Regions from separate parts of the Homo sapiens genome. Here all the other regions are linked to region 3. Evidence: promoter capture Hi-C in human tissues and cell types (Jung and others, 2019). All regions are on one chromosome and are shown on one strand. Each heading gives the region's core, a stretch centred on a gene start or on the middle of the fragment in contact. The rest is flanking DNA. Distances are from core to core; before and after follow the strand shown.

Region 1 (4,718 bases), core at 277-2,776, 47 kb after region 3:
ACCAGATAGCAGCAGATGCCACAATAGGCACTAACTGTGATGAGATGCTGATAAAGAGACAGAACAGGAGCAGCTCATCCAGGAACAATTTTGATTACAAGGAAACACTGAGTATTCTTTCTGGGAGGCACTTTTGCTGTGAGATTTCCCCCAGTGAACTCTGATCGAGTAAGAAACCACAAACGTCAGGCATCTGTGAAATACATTTGCCATCTGGGTGTTAACTTCCCTCTTGACGAAAATCCTCTCTCACTAGGTGAAATGTGAATAAATGCAGAATAAATTACTGCATTTATTACTGTGGCTTGCCAAGATTCTCCACATCTAGATGTTATTCCTTCTGCTGCAAGATTCTTGATGGCAATTCTATGCTGTGAAGAGACTATCATCCTTTACAACTTTGTCATTGTATTAAAGCTTATATTCAATGGATATGAACATACCTGTGACATTTTCTTGGTTGCCTTATAAACTGTGTTATGGAATAAAACAACCATGAGCTCTGGTATTAAGACATGTTGAAATTTGATTGGCACTATTCACTAGCTTGTGATCTTTGGCAAGCTAGTTAATTTCTGTGACACTCAGCTTTCTCATCTGTAAAATTGAAAAACTATGCTTTATTGCTATTGTTTAGATTAGCAATCTTAAATGCCAAGTATTTTGCATGTTGCTTAGCATATAGTTGCATATGTTCCTTAACATATACCTTACTCGGCAGGTGGCAGCTTATATTAATAATAGTAGTAATAATAATAATATAGTCCTAGAAGACAAATCACAAACTTGGGGTTGTGTGTCCTGGGCTGGGAAAAATTAGAAAATTTTCTCTGATGCAGAATAGCCTCTCTGAGCATCATCTTTGGTCTCAAAACTCTCAAAACACTGAGCTTTCTTTAGCAATAATTCTGGAGTGAAAGTTTAATTTTGAGACCAATCTCAGCTATAGAAATTCATAAAATTCAAAATGAGTTTTGTTGATATCCATGACACAGAACAAGATTTTTTTTCTTAAGAGATAATACCATGTTAACACTCTCCTCTTTTCATAGTGGAAAATTTTCTTCTCCAGATGAGAATATTTTTGATATTTTAAAGATTAATATATACTTGATACAAAAATTCAAACTATATAGAAGAGAAAGTAATTGTGTCATTCTTCAGTGATCATAAGTTTTAACAATTCCATGAATACACTTTTCAGTCTTTTTCAATACATATGCAAACATACACATGGAATATGAATTTTATTAAAGACATTGGATAATATTGTGAACCCCAAAAATCTGAGACAGCTCTCAGTTAGTTTAGAAAGTTTATTTTGATAAGGTTGAGGACACGGGCCCGTGACACAGCCTCAGGAGTTTTTTTTGTTTGTTTGTTTTTGTTTTTGTTTTATTTTGAGACGGAGTCTCGCTCTGTCGCCCAGGCTGGAGTGCAGTGGCGCGATCTCAGGTCACTGCAAGCTCCGCCTCCCAGGTTCACGCCATTCTTCTGCCTCAGCCTCCCAAGTAGCTGGGATTACAGACACCCGCCACCACGCCCGGCTAATTTTTTGTATTTTTAGTAGAGACGGGGTTTCACAGTTTTAGCCAGGAACGTCTCGATCTCCTGACCTCGTGATCCACCCACCTCGGCCTCCCATAGTGCTGGGATTACAGGCGTGAGCCACCGCGCCCGGCCTAGGAGGTCTTGATGACATGTGCCCAAGGTGGCCAGAGCACAGTTTGGTTTTATACATTTTAGGGATGCATGAGACATCCATCAATATATATGTAAGTTGAACATTGGTTTGGTCCAGAAAGGTGGGACATCTCGAAACAAACATGCAGGACAACTCTAAGCAGGGAGGGGGCTTCCAGGTCATAGGTAGATAAAAGACAAGTGGTTGCATTCTTTTGAGTTTCTGATTAGCCTCTCCAAAGGAGGCAATCAGATATGCATTTATCTCAGTGAGCAGAGGGGTGTCTTTGAATAGAATGGTAGGCAGGTTTGCCCCGAGCAGTTCCCAACTTGACTTTTCCCTTTAGCTTAGCGATTTGAGGGCCCCAATATTTATTTTTCTTTCACAATATCAAGACTGTGTATGTATACACTCTTTCCATAACCTTCCTCTCCACTTAGTAATACACTGTGGTCATCTTTTCGTGTCAGTGGTATAGATATGTCTTATTTTTTAAAAAAATTGCTGCCAAGTATTCCATTTACATAGGTGCCATGTTTTAACCAATACTCCAGCTTTTCATTATTAAAAATTGTTTTAGTAAACATTCTTGTACATATATACCTTTGTTTAGTTGTGTAAATATTTTGCTATAATTCATGCTAGAGGTAGAATTGATGGACCAATGGTTATATACATTTAAATGTTGATATATATTTAAAGTTTTAAAGTGCCCTCCAAAGAGATCATATTCTTTAAACTCCTACCAATAGATGACCTATTTCCTCTCAGAGGAACTGGCTTAAAATGGGACTTGCTTTCAATGGGACTTATCACTTGAAATAGCCAAAATGGGCACAAAGCAAGTAGATTTAAAAAACACAAACTTGAGTACTAGACCAAGAGCCAGAAGCTTGTACAGACCCTGATTCACAGTAGTCAACAGTCACTCGACACATATTTGGTGACAGACTGAGTATCTGGCTATCTATCATCAAGGACCCAGCTTGGGAAAGGGCAAATAATTGAATGAGAAAATAAGTAACATTATATGTAAACATTAGTATTCATGGTCTTCTGCTAAAAGAAAAAGTGTGTGAGTGAAGAGTTTGAAGCAACTTCTCTTGGAAAGACTTAGAGCAGATGATGGGACCTTTTCAAATTTCAATTGGAGAGGTGAAGTCTAGAACCTTTGACTGTGTATTTTCATCAGCTTCTGAAATAATGAGGCATGTAAATTTCTGGGACTGTATCTAAGTCATAACTACTTTCTCAAGACCACTCAAGACCTTACAGCAGGGCATGGTGGCTCACACCTGTAATCTTAGCTACTCAGGAGTTTGATCAGGAGGATCACTTGGGCCCAGGAGTTTGAGACCAGCCTAGCCAACATAGCAAGACCCCATCTCAGAAAAAAAAAAAAAAAAAAAAAAAAAACCAGACCTTACAAAGTGTGCTTGGGAATTTGCATAGCTCTCAAGGCAGGTGATTTTTTTCTCATAGTAGGTATAGGAAACCATTTTAAAATATTAAATTTTTTTCTGAGATAAAAAGACCTTGTGATTTTAATTCTCTTTTAATGCTGATTCTCTGAAGTGCATTTCATTGGAGAGTGTCCTACATGTACTAAAGACAATGTTGTATGAACAGGTTTATCAGTCAGAGAACTAGGTAGCCTAATCAAATTAAGAGCTAATTTGCAATAAATACACAAATAGTACAGTACTTCCTTAAACATGCAAATCAACAGAGAAAACCCAGCATAAAAACTAATTTAACCTTCAGGAAACTGTTGATTGTGTTTCCTAACATTATGATTTCCAAGACGAAGAGTGTACCTTTGGGACCATCTGTCCTTTTCATAACCCTCCCATGGCTGTGTGCATGATGAAGCTGCCTCCAATCATTAGTATTGCAGAGAGCAAGGAATTCTACCAAGAATAATTTGGTTTGCCCAGACAAAAATATCAATCGTTCTTCAGAGGTATATCGATGAATACAAATGCTTAAAAATGTCTTTTAAAATCTCTGTTAATAATTGCTACTAGTGTTAAATAATAATGAATGAAAATTCTAGGTAGCAACATTTTCATCTAGTGCAAATAAAGAGAACCCCTTGATTATTTCTGAGTAGATTAACACTGCATGTGTGTGTAAAGAATCATGCATTACTTTGACAGAATTGATTTTTTTCAGGATTTCTCTTATGTCCTTTTTTTCTGGGGAAATAATTTAATGTTTTGGCAAAAAAATTGTGGAGTTTGTAAGTTCATTTGTACATTGAAGCCTGTGCTTTTTCATATAATCATTGAAGTTTAACTCTATATTTTTAATATTTGTGTTGCTGCTCCAAGATGTTCTCTGGAATATATTTATATTCTTTAAATTGTCTTAATTATTTATTTCTTAAATTCCGAAAGGAAGGAGTTCTGGCTTAGGGAAAACATCTAATTGGAAATGCTTTTTTCTTTGCCCTAACATGTCCAAATTTTAAAGACTGTATTTCTTTTCCTTTTCTGGTTTAGCCAAAGGAAAGAATCAGAATCCTTTTAATAAGATTATCAGGCAAGACTATGAGCTTAAACATTCCCAGTAATTCCAAAGTGAAATTTCCCTTTTTCCAGGTCCCTCTGGGGTTTTGATTTCTGATTGCCCTGGAACTTGGAAGAAGTTATTCTAGCTCTTGCTCTTTTTCCTAGTTGTCTTGCCAAACTCTGCAAATGTAATTCTTACTTTCTCACAAATCAGACCAAGGGACATTGTCCTCACTTCTTTCTGGATGGCTTTTTTTCCCCCTTGCCCTTTGACATACTTCTGAGTTCCTCTGAACTCCAGAACATGGGCTATTTTAAATCAAGTCCATGACACACTGTCAGTTCCCATATTCATGTTTTTTTACTTAAGTAAGCGTATTGCCTTTATTTTAAAATAACCCTTACCACAGAAATAGTAATCCAGAGTATAACACAATTATGTCATAGCTGCAGAAATATCTGGAACATAAAACTTCAGTGAACATATCTTTTTAAAAGTACATTATTTATATTAATTGTTA
Region 2 (4,878 bases), core at 1,484-3,983, 63 kb after region 3:
CAATTATTCTTTCCCCTACCTGAATACTTGCTAAACTCTATCAAAATCTTAATTATCATCTTGCTAACTTCAAAATACTATGTAATTCATTTTATTTATTTATTTATTTATTTTTAATTTTTTTTTTTTTTTTTTTTTTTGTGATGGAGTCTTGCTCTGTCGCCCAGGCTGGAGTGCAATGGCATGATCTTGGCTCACTGCAAGCTCCACCTCCCGGGTTCATGCCATTCTCCTGCCTCAGCATCCCAAGTAGCTGGGACTACAGGCACCCGCCACCATGCCCAGCTAATTTTTTGTATTTTTAGTAGAGATGGGGTTTCACCATGTTAGCCAGGATGGTCTTGATCTCCTGACCTCGTGATCCACCTGCCTTGGCCTCCCAAAGTGCTGGGATTACAGGCTTGAGCCACTGCGCCCAGCTGATGTAATTCATTTTAAATATCTTTTTGGTATAATCCTACCACCACCACCATATGCCAGGTATCAAGAAAAGGGAGAAGGTGAGGAAAGGGGATAACAAATACACATTAAGATATGTTATCTGCTAATGCAATAAGACAAGAAAAGGAATAAAAGATATACAGATTGGGAAGGAAGAAATAAAACTGTTTCTGTTTGCTGATGATACAATCATCTATGTAGAAAATCTAAAAGAATCAACAAAAAAAACCTTCTGGAACTAAAAAGTAAGTATAGAGGGGTTGCAGGATACAAGGTTAATACACAAATGTCAATTGCTTTTCTATTTACCAACAATTAACAAGTGGAGTCTAAATTAGTCTCCACAATACCATTTATATCACCACCCCTAAAAATGAAACACTTAGATAGAAATCTAACAAAATATCTATAAGAACTAAAGGGGAACTATAAAACTTATGAAAGAAATCAAGGGAAAACTAAATAAATAGATATTTCATGCTCATAATAGGAAGACTCAATATTGTCAAGATGTCAGTTCATCCCATCTTGATTTATAGATTCAATGCAATTTCAATCAAAATGCCAGCAAGTAATTTTGTAAATATTGACAACCTGATTCTAAAGTTTATATGTTGATACAAAAGACCGAGAATACCCAACACAATATTGAAGGAGAAAAAGTTGGAGGATCGACATCAAGACATACTATAAAGTACAATAATCAAAGCAGTGCAGTACTGGTGAAAGAAAGGGCAAATAGATCAATGGAACAGAACAGAAAGCTCAGAAATAGACCCACATAAATATAGTCAGCTGACCTTTGACAAAGGAGCAAAGGCAACACAATAGAACAAAGAGTCTTTTCAGCAAATGGTGCTGAAACAACTGGACATCTACATGCAAAAAAAGAATCTAGATATAACCTCATACCCTTCACAAAAAGTAAGTCAAAGTGGATTACTGACCTAAATGTAAAATGCAAAAACTATAAAACTCCTAGAAGAAAACATAGGAGAAAAATCTAGCTGATCTTTGGTATGGTGATGACTTTTTAGATATGACTCCAAAGGCACAATCCATGAAAGAAATAATTGATAAGCTGGACTTCATTAAAATTAAAAAATGCCTGCTTTGCAGAAGACACTGTCCAGAGAACAAGAAGACAAGCCACAGACTGGGAGAAAATATTTGCAAACAATATATCTGATAAAACACTGTTATTCAAAATGTACAAATAACTCTTGAAACTCAACAATGGGAAGATGAATAACTTGATTTAAAAATGGGCAAAACACTTGAACAGATACCTCACAAAAGAAGATAAACAGGTGACAAATAAGCATATGAAAAGATGCTCCACATCATATGTCATCAGCGAATTTCAAATAAAACAACAAGATACCACTACATGCCTATTAGAACGAACAACATTCAGAACACTGCAACACCAAATGCTAGTGAGGATGTGGATCAATGGGAACTCTGATTCATTGCCAGTGGGTACAAAATGGTACAGCCACTTTGGAAGACAGTTTTGCAGCTTACTTCAAAACTAAACTTACTCTCCCCGTCATCACTATACCACGCAACTGCACTCCTTGGTATTTACCCAAAACAATTGAAAACATATGTCCACACAAAAATCTGCACATAGATGTTTTAACAGCTTCATTAATAATTTTGCTCTAACTTGGAAGCAACCAAGATGTCCTTCAGTAGGTAAATGGATAACCCGTGGTACATGCAGACAATGGAATATTCAGTGATAAAAAGAAATGTGTTATCTAGCTATGAAAAATCACACAGGAAACTTAAATGCATCACTAAGTAAAAGAAATCAATAAGAAAGGCCACCTACTGCACAATTCCAACTATATAATATCCCGGAACAAATGAAAAAGATCAGTGGTTGCCGGGAGTTAGGGGGAAGAGAGGAATGAATAAGCACAGAGGATGTTTAGGGCAGTGAAACGATTCTGTATGATACTATAATGGTAGATAGTTGTCATTATACATTTGTCCAAACCCATATAATGTACAACACCAACAGTGAACTCTAACATAAACCAGGGACTTTGGGTGATAATGATGTGTCAGTGTAGGTTGTCCAGTTGTAACAACTGCGTCGCTGTGGTGGGGGATGTTGGTAATGGGAGAGGCTAGGCATGTGTAGAGACAGGGTAGATGAGAAATCACTGTATCTTCAACTCAATTTTGCTGTGAACTTAAAGGTGCTTTAAAAATAAAGTTTATTTTAAAAGTAAATAAATATTTAGAAAATTTACTACAGTTGACTCATGCTGCCCCATTAATACATAGATCACAGTTCCCAGTGCAAATACCATCATTGCTTCTAAAGGATGAAAATACTGATGTGTGGGTTGACCAACTGGTATGTTGATCCATGGGAGGCTGCACAGAAAACCCTGTGGCCAGGAGAAGCATTTTTAGTGGCATGTCTCTTTCTGAGCTCTGCCCATTTGTTCTAGGTGAGGGTTATGTATACTGCTCTTATCTCATAGCCCTACCAACATCCCTATGGCTCCTGTCACAAGATGCCTTGCCCAATGGCTCTCTCAAGGCCAAATGAAGCCTATAGTTTTGGAGAGTAAAAATCCCTTATTCACATTTGCTTTTATTCCTCTGATACACTATCCTGCCTTTGTTCCGTAGAGATGATTTTATTAGCATTTCATTTGTGTATGTACTGTATTTTATTTGTGTATCTCCTGAATTTGAATATCAGCCAAAAAGAAAACATAAGAACAATCTGGAAAAAAAGTTATCTGAGGAATCAATTAAAGATGCTCTTTTTTAATAAAAAAGAGAAATATTATCTGTGCTCATAGAGTTGACAAATATTGACATATTTGCTATGATAAATTTGTTTTATATTTGCATTCACCTGTGCTTAGATTGTTAATTTTTCATGAACAATGTGAAAGAATGCACAATATCTATGGTAAAACAGAGTATCTGCAGCAGTGGAATGGGCATAGCACACTTTTAGCTCCACAGAGCTCAGTCAGGTATTTGCATTTATGAGTAGCCTGAAATCTTTAGAGTTTTGTAGGAGGGCAAAAAGGAGAGATACTACCCTGATGGTGCAGTTACATCAATAGCCTGTAGACCATAAGGCTGCTTGCCCATAAGACCTTGCAAAACTTAAACTCATCCAGTGTTAGGTGACAACTGGGCCTAAGGTAGTCCTTTTCCTTTAAGTAGTATTTGGTTTCAAAATGGAACTCTTGAAGATAGAAACATTTTGAAGAGTCAAAGGGAAAATGTGTCATTAGAGTTCTCCTGATAGGAGATCTCAGAGGAGAAGGGGAATGAAGAAAAGCTTTCATGATATCTCTCAAATTATTCCTCCTGGACCTGTACTAGTTTCTCCTATATGGGAGGCTAATACTTAACACATGGACCTTATTGTCTCTAGAGTCAATCTTTTTGAGAATAACCCATCATAATTTTACTCCCCCAATTTCTTAAAAGACATTTTCTTCATTCATACATTTCACCTTTATGTCTAATAATTAGGGTCAGTATATATAAGATTTCATAGAACTTATAAAAATCTGGAAATGTATCTAAACATAGAAAAATTATAATAAAAAGAGGACGGTCACTACTATACACATGTTAGAATAGCTAAAATGAAAAAGACTGACCCAAATGTTGACAAGGATGTGAAGAAACTGAAACTTTCATACACTGCTGGTGAGAACGTTAAATAGTATATCCACTTTGAAATATTGGTTGAAAATTTCTTTAAAATTAAGCATGCACTTACCATATGATCTAGCCATTCCATCCCTTGGTATTTATCCAAAAGAAATAAGTGTCCAGGGAAAGGTCTATGCATAACTGCTTATAGCTGCTTTATTTGCAATAGGCAGAAACATAAAATAACCCTAAAGTATACCAATAAGTGAACAGATAAACAAATTATGGTATCTATACAAAGAAATACTACACAGAAATAAAAAGAAATGAAGGATACATGTAATTATGATGAGTTTAAAAACCCAGAAAAAAAAAAGAGAAAAGAGTGTATGATTCCATTTACAAGAAACTCTAGAAAATGAAAACTAATCTATAGTGAAAGGGAGGTGATCATCAGTGATTGCCTTCAGATGGGGTGGGGCAAAGACAGGGGGAGTGGCATGGAAAGGGACACCAAAGGGCAGGAGGAAACTTTTGGGAGTAATGGATATGCTCATTATCTTAATTGTGGTGATTGTTTCACAGGTGTATGCATGGATCACAATATATCAAAGTGTATAATTTAAATATGTGTAGTTTGTTCTATGTCAAATATATCTCAATAAAATTATTTAACAAAGAGACTGGTCAGTTTAAAATTCGACTGAGAAAAATACTGGACAACAGACATCTAGAACAAAGAAGAGACAGAGAAATGAAAACTTGAACATTAAATGTATGAAAGCCTTT
Region 3 (4,893 bases), core at 573-3,072:
AATTACTAATTATAGATTTGCATAAATCATTCTAGAGATTTTAGTTTGTATGTACAAATACTATAGATATATTTTAAAGATGAGACTATAGCATATACGTATTGTTCTATGATATTTTCCCTCAATACCATATTATGGATATAGAGAAGTATTCCCCTCATATTTTTGATAGAATTTCACTTCTGAAATTTTGTGGCTTCTATATCTAGCTGGTAGGAAAAAAACTATCCATCTAACTTTGAGATCTATACTATTATAAATGATCATAGAGAAATAAAATATTTTTTAAAAAACTCTTCTACATTTCAAAAATGAAACAAAATTAGACTCTTAAGTTTATTACCATTATTACCAAGACTATAAAATATATGGAAAAGGGAAAATGTAAAATAAAAAATATATGAAAGAAAAACTAATTTTCCAGGAAGTCTCAATGGTTGAATAACTTTTTCCAGTTAAAAAGATCTCAAACTTTTACATACTGAATAAGAAGTTAAGAGTTACAGCCAATAAACTATAAACTATATTCTTTCTTCAAATTCTGATTAATCTTTTGTTATTTTATACAGTTTAGGACAATGTTTCTCAAGTTAAATCATAATCTCTGGGTCAGAGCCTGAGAATTTATATTTACCAAATCCCAAGGTGTTATTTTGCATGCTAAACTGGAAAACAGTGGAATTAGAAAATCCTTCACTGAGACTTTCTTTTATTTGGCTTCTTCCTCAGCTGTAAAGTGAAGTCTTTAAATCTAACCGATCTCACAGTATGAATTGATCCCCATAAGTTCTCTTACTGTTCCAGGCAACAATGACATGACTTTGCTCATTTTATCTAAAATAGAACATTTTATACAGGCTTTCTGAACAGTTAAGTAAAGCTGTAGGCACTTTGACAAGCACAGCAAACTCGGGTCACTGGCATCACTCTTTATTGTATTTATATAGTTCTGAAAATTCCCAAAGACTCTTCATATCTATTGTGTTTATATCGATGGGACATACTCTAGAAATAGTATAAAATAAAGTTGTTGTAACTAATGACTCGGTTTTCCATCTTCACTCACTGCTCCAACTCCAGAAACGTCTGATGTTAGCGAAATTGAGTTTGAATTCACTGCCATAACTCCAGTTCTTTTTCTCTCAGTAACTTCCCTAGACTATGAACACAGTATTTTAGGAAGTATTTTTGTTTTTCAAACTCTCTGTATCTACATGATTGTGTAATAAAGGACAACCTAGAGGTAGAGAGAAAAAACTGTTAGTTTAGCTAAAACTTAAATTTTTAAATTGAGATTTTCTAGGATTTGCAATATATTCAATTCCTTATTTTATGAACACTTCAGTTGCTATGAACGTAGCTCTCAGAAAAGCCAGAAAATGGGTTGACCATGCTTTTAAGCTTTCTCTCCTCTGGACCTGCAACCAAAATTCTCTTGGTATGAAATTGCCCTTGAAATCAGTGGGCATTCCATGCATTTAAGCAGCTCTCTCATTTAAGTTAATTCTATTAAAAATTACCACAAATAAAATTCAAATAAATTATCTGAATGACACAACAAAAGATTAATCCTAAAAGAGGATTGTACTGCAGCCTTGCAAAACTCCCCAGTATCCTGTTAAAAGTAGTAGATGAAAATGTCATGTAGCTTTCTTAAAAAGGAGCTTTTCAGCAGAACAACAAAAAGCATTTCTTACCCAGAGCTTTCATGTAATCGTCAAAGTTCTCACTAGAGACAAGTTTCCAGGTGCCCAGGAATTTGTTGCTCATCGTGATGGGTGAGAGCTCAACACAGTTCTAAGTGGGATTCAGAAGACTCAGATAAAATGCTGAGGCCTCAGAAGATTCTTTTCAAGGATGCCCAAAGCGTGTGACTCTTACAGAGACCCAATGGGGAAAGGCAGTGTCGGGACTAAGCAATGAATGGCTCTTCAATGGCCAGCTGCCCGCCCAATAGGATAAAAGAAAACCCCACATAATACTTCCCTTTGTCTCCAAAAAAATTTATAAAATGAATGAGATTACTATTTGAATCTTCAAAAATTTTTTGATCAATCTTACATTTATAAGAAGGCTTAGGCCCTTCATGCTTTGGAAAAGACTGCATGAATTCTGTGATCATGAATGAATGTGTGTGTGTTTAGGCATGTCGGTCACTCTCAATCCTGAGTCTGCACAATTAAGAATTCTTATTGAAAGGGAAGAAAAAGAGGAAAATGTCTGTAAGTATTATGATAACAGTCTCAAATATGTTGTGGGAGAGAAACGTAGGGGAGCAGTGTGAGGAAGTATTCATAGGTAAGAAGGCTTGGCATAGTTCACATATCCCAGGCAGGCAGAGTAGGCAGACAAAGAAGTCAGTCTATTGCAGCAGAGCACAGAAATTGTATTCATGTGATGAAACAAGAAGTAGCACTATAACATGTTCTTTGAGCACAACAAAGATTTTCAGCTAGAAATACTTAAAGTCTGAACTAAGCAGGTTCCTGGATACTATAACTATTTGTGTTTAAGTCATTTAAAATGAATCTACAATTTTATAAAGAGGATTTTCTATAGAAAGAGTACTAATTTATATTGACAACTCACTATGGGCCAGACACTGTGCTAAGTGCTTAATACGGGTGATCTCATTTAATTATATCACTAATTCCAAGAGTTAGGAACTATTATTATATCCATTTTACCAATGATAAAAATGAGCTTGGGGACATTAGGTAAATTGCTCCCAAAAGTTGAATAAGGAGAGGACAGGTTTGAACCCAGCATTGCTGCCAGTGCCCGGGTTCTGAACCATGATCTTACCCTGCTTCTATTATACTATACCATACATGCTACGTGCACGGAGGCCCTGGCCAGAGATCACCTGATGCTGATAGCACCACGATTAGCTAGAAACACTCTCTCTCTTCTCAAAAATCAAGAGAGGTAAAAAATCAAAAGATCCAGCCTACTATATTACATCAAAGCCCCAGTCTTTGGCCAAGGGGAACAAACGTAAATCCACTTAGAACATAAGTGTTGCTCTTGAGAATCTCTGATTACTGCTATATCTTTCCTAGCAGGTTTTTTGTTTGTTTGTTTTTGTTGTTGTTTGTTTGTTGTTTGTTTTTACCTTAGCATTAATTCTGGCTGGAGACAACTGATATTACCAAGTTTTATACATTTAGTAAACAGGTTGGCACTGTTTACAACAACAAAAATATGATGAATTTGCTCATAACAGGTAGAATTACTAGCAAGAAGGGCTCAAGAAACCCAGTCGCATAGCTGTGACATAACTATTGCAGTTACATAGTTAGAGTTCAAGCTGAGTAAAACACGTGAAATCATATACAGTGGGCTGAAGTTTCATTTACAATCCCAGTGCCTGAATAGCTCAAGGTGGGAAAGAAATGGTGAATAGGAAAATTCCTCAGCTAACCAACTAACCCAATCCTAAACCCAAGAGAATGTAACTGGAGGGAGTACATTGTACTGGGATAGAAAAAACAACTGTGAAAGAAAAAGCTTTTGATTAGTGGATATGTTATTTTATTTTCCAAAACACTTTACAGAAATGATGATATCACTTGTACCTTCAAAACTTTTTTTTTTTTGTTAGCTGTACACTATTAAGGAGTACAGCATTCAACATTTAGGTTTTCTGCCTAAATAAATGAAGGACTCCCAAACCCTCACACTAGAGCTGAGACCTTGTATTCAGTGGGACTGCTACAAGAAAGCTGTGTGAATTTTAAGCTGACTCTGTGTTGCACATAGGAACAGCAGTGGAGTTTAAAACATAAACATTGAGCCATATATTTCCAAGAGAGAAAACTTATAACTTTGAAGCAATATTAGACCAAGAGAAAAATTTTCTACTTAAGGCTTATCAGCAATTGTACCTGACTGCTATTAATAGAACTGACCAGACAAGTTTGGACCGTGATGGGATTCTGAGGCCAATATATGGGCCAAAGGCACAGATCAAAGCAATGAGGGAAGACCCGGACTGAACTAGGCCTGAAACATTACATCACTCCTAGCTAAGAAAGTCATCAATGTCCTAACAAGAAAGAATGCATAGAACCACATTATAACTAGATGTATATATTTAGACTGAACTACATGTTTGTAAAATACATATAGTCTCTCTATGATGTGTATTCAGTTCTTCTCTCTTCACCAATTTATTGTCCATGTAAATTCTCAAGATACAGCAAGTTATTTGACTCATACACTGAAAGGAAGATCCAAAGGTCCAAACAAAATAAATAAGGAAAGCTTACTCTATATAACAAACCATGTAAGTGTTCCTTATAGATTGTCTTCAAGCTAAATCCAATTATATATTTGAAAAAGAAATAAGATAATCAATCATTACATAGCAAATGAACAAAGAATTCCTGACCCTCCACTTGGATGCCAAAGATCCAACTCAACTTTTGCTGTTTATTCAATTGCAAAAATATTTGTTGAGAGCTTATTAAGTGCCAAGCACTGTTGAAAGTGCTGGTTAAACATTATTGAATCAAATTCCTTGCCCTCATGGAACTTACATTCTACTCATGATTTGATAAAGGCTTGAAGCAAGAAGTATTAATTGTAATGAATTTGAAATTATTTGTAATAATAATTGATATTGTGATAATAATTGATGACAAGAGAAGCATACCATAGAATACCAAGATAAATAATCAACTTAAAAGGGTCACTTAAAAAATTGTGGGTTCATAGTAGGTGTATGTATTTATGGGGTACATGAGATGTTTTGGTACAGGCATGCAAAGCATAATAACCACATCATGGAAGATGGTGTATCCACCCCCTCACACATTTATCCTTTGTGTTACAAACAATCCAGTTTTACTCTTGCTTATTTCTAAATGTACTATTTAATTATTATCGACT

The links. Contacts are between HindIII fragments. The study calls those that stand out against the background at their distance.
Region 1: a fragment that was not itself captured here is called in contact with the fragment with the promoter of PMP2 in region 3 in 1 of the 25 tissues and cell types used here (liver).
Region 2: a contact is called between a fragment that was not itself captured here and the fragment with the promoter of PMP2 in region 3, in 2 of the 25 tissues and cell types used here (dorsolateral prefrontal cortex and mesenchymal stem cells).

What each region holds. Positions count from the first base shown.
Region 1 is chr8:81,492,482-81,497,199 of GRCh38, forward strand. All of the region lies in intron 1 of LOC101927118 (a long non-coding RNA gene), which reads left to right. Among named protein-coding and RNA genes, the nearest start is that of FABP4, 12 kb to the left of the region's middle. The HindIII fragment of the contact is 5,989 bases long and covers 1-4,521 here.
Region 2 is chr8:81,507,424-81,512,301 of GRCh38, forward strand. The region is part of intron 1 of LOC101927118 (a long non-coding RNA gene); the gene reads left to right. Among named protein-coding and RNA genes, the nearest start is that of FABP12, 24 kb to the right of the region's middle. The HindIII fragment of the contact is 4,592 bases long and covers 438-4,878 here.
Region 3 is chr8:81,445,617-81,450,509 of GRCh38, forward strand. It overlaps PMP2 (peripheral myelin protein 2), which reads right to left and starts at 1,823. Exons shown (of 4, transcript NM_002677.5): 1 at 1,698-1,823. The coding sequence starts at 1,770. The HindIII fragment of the contact is 7,076 bases long and covers 1-3,888 here.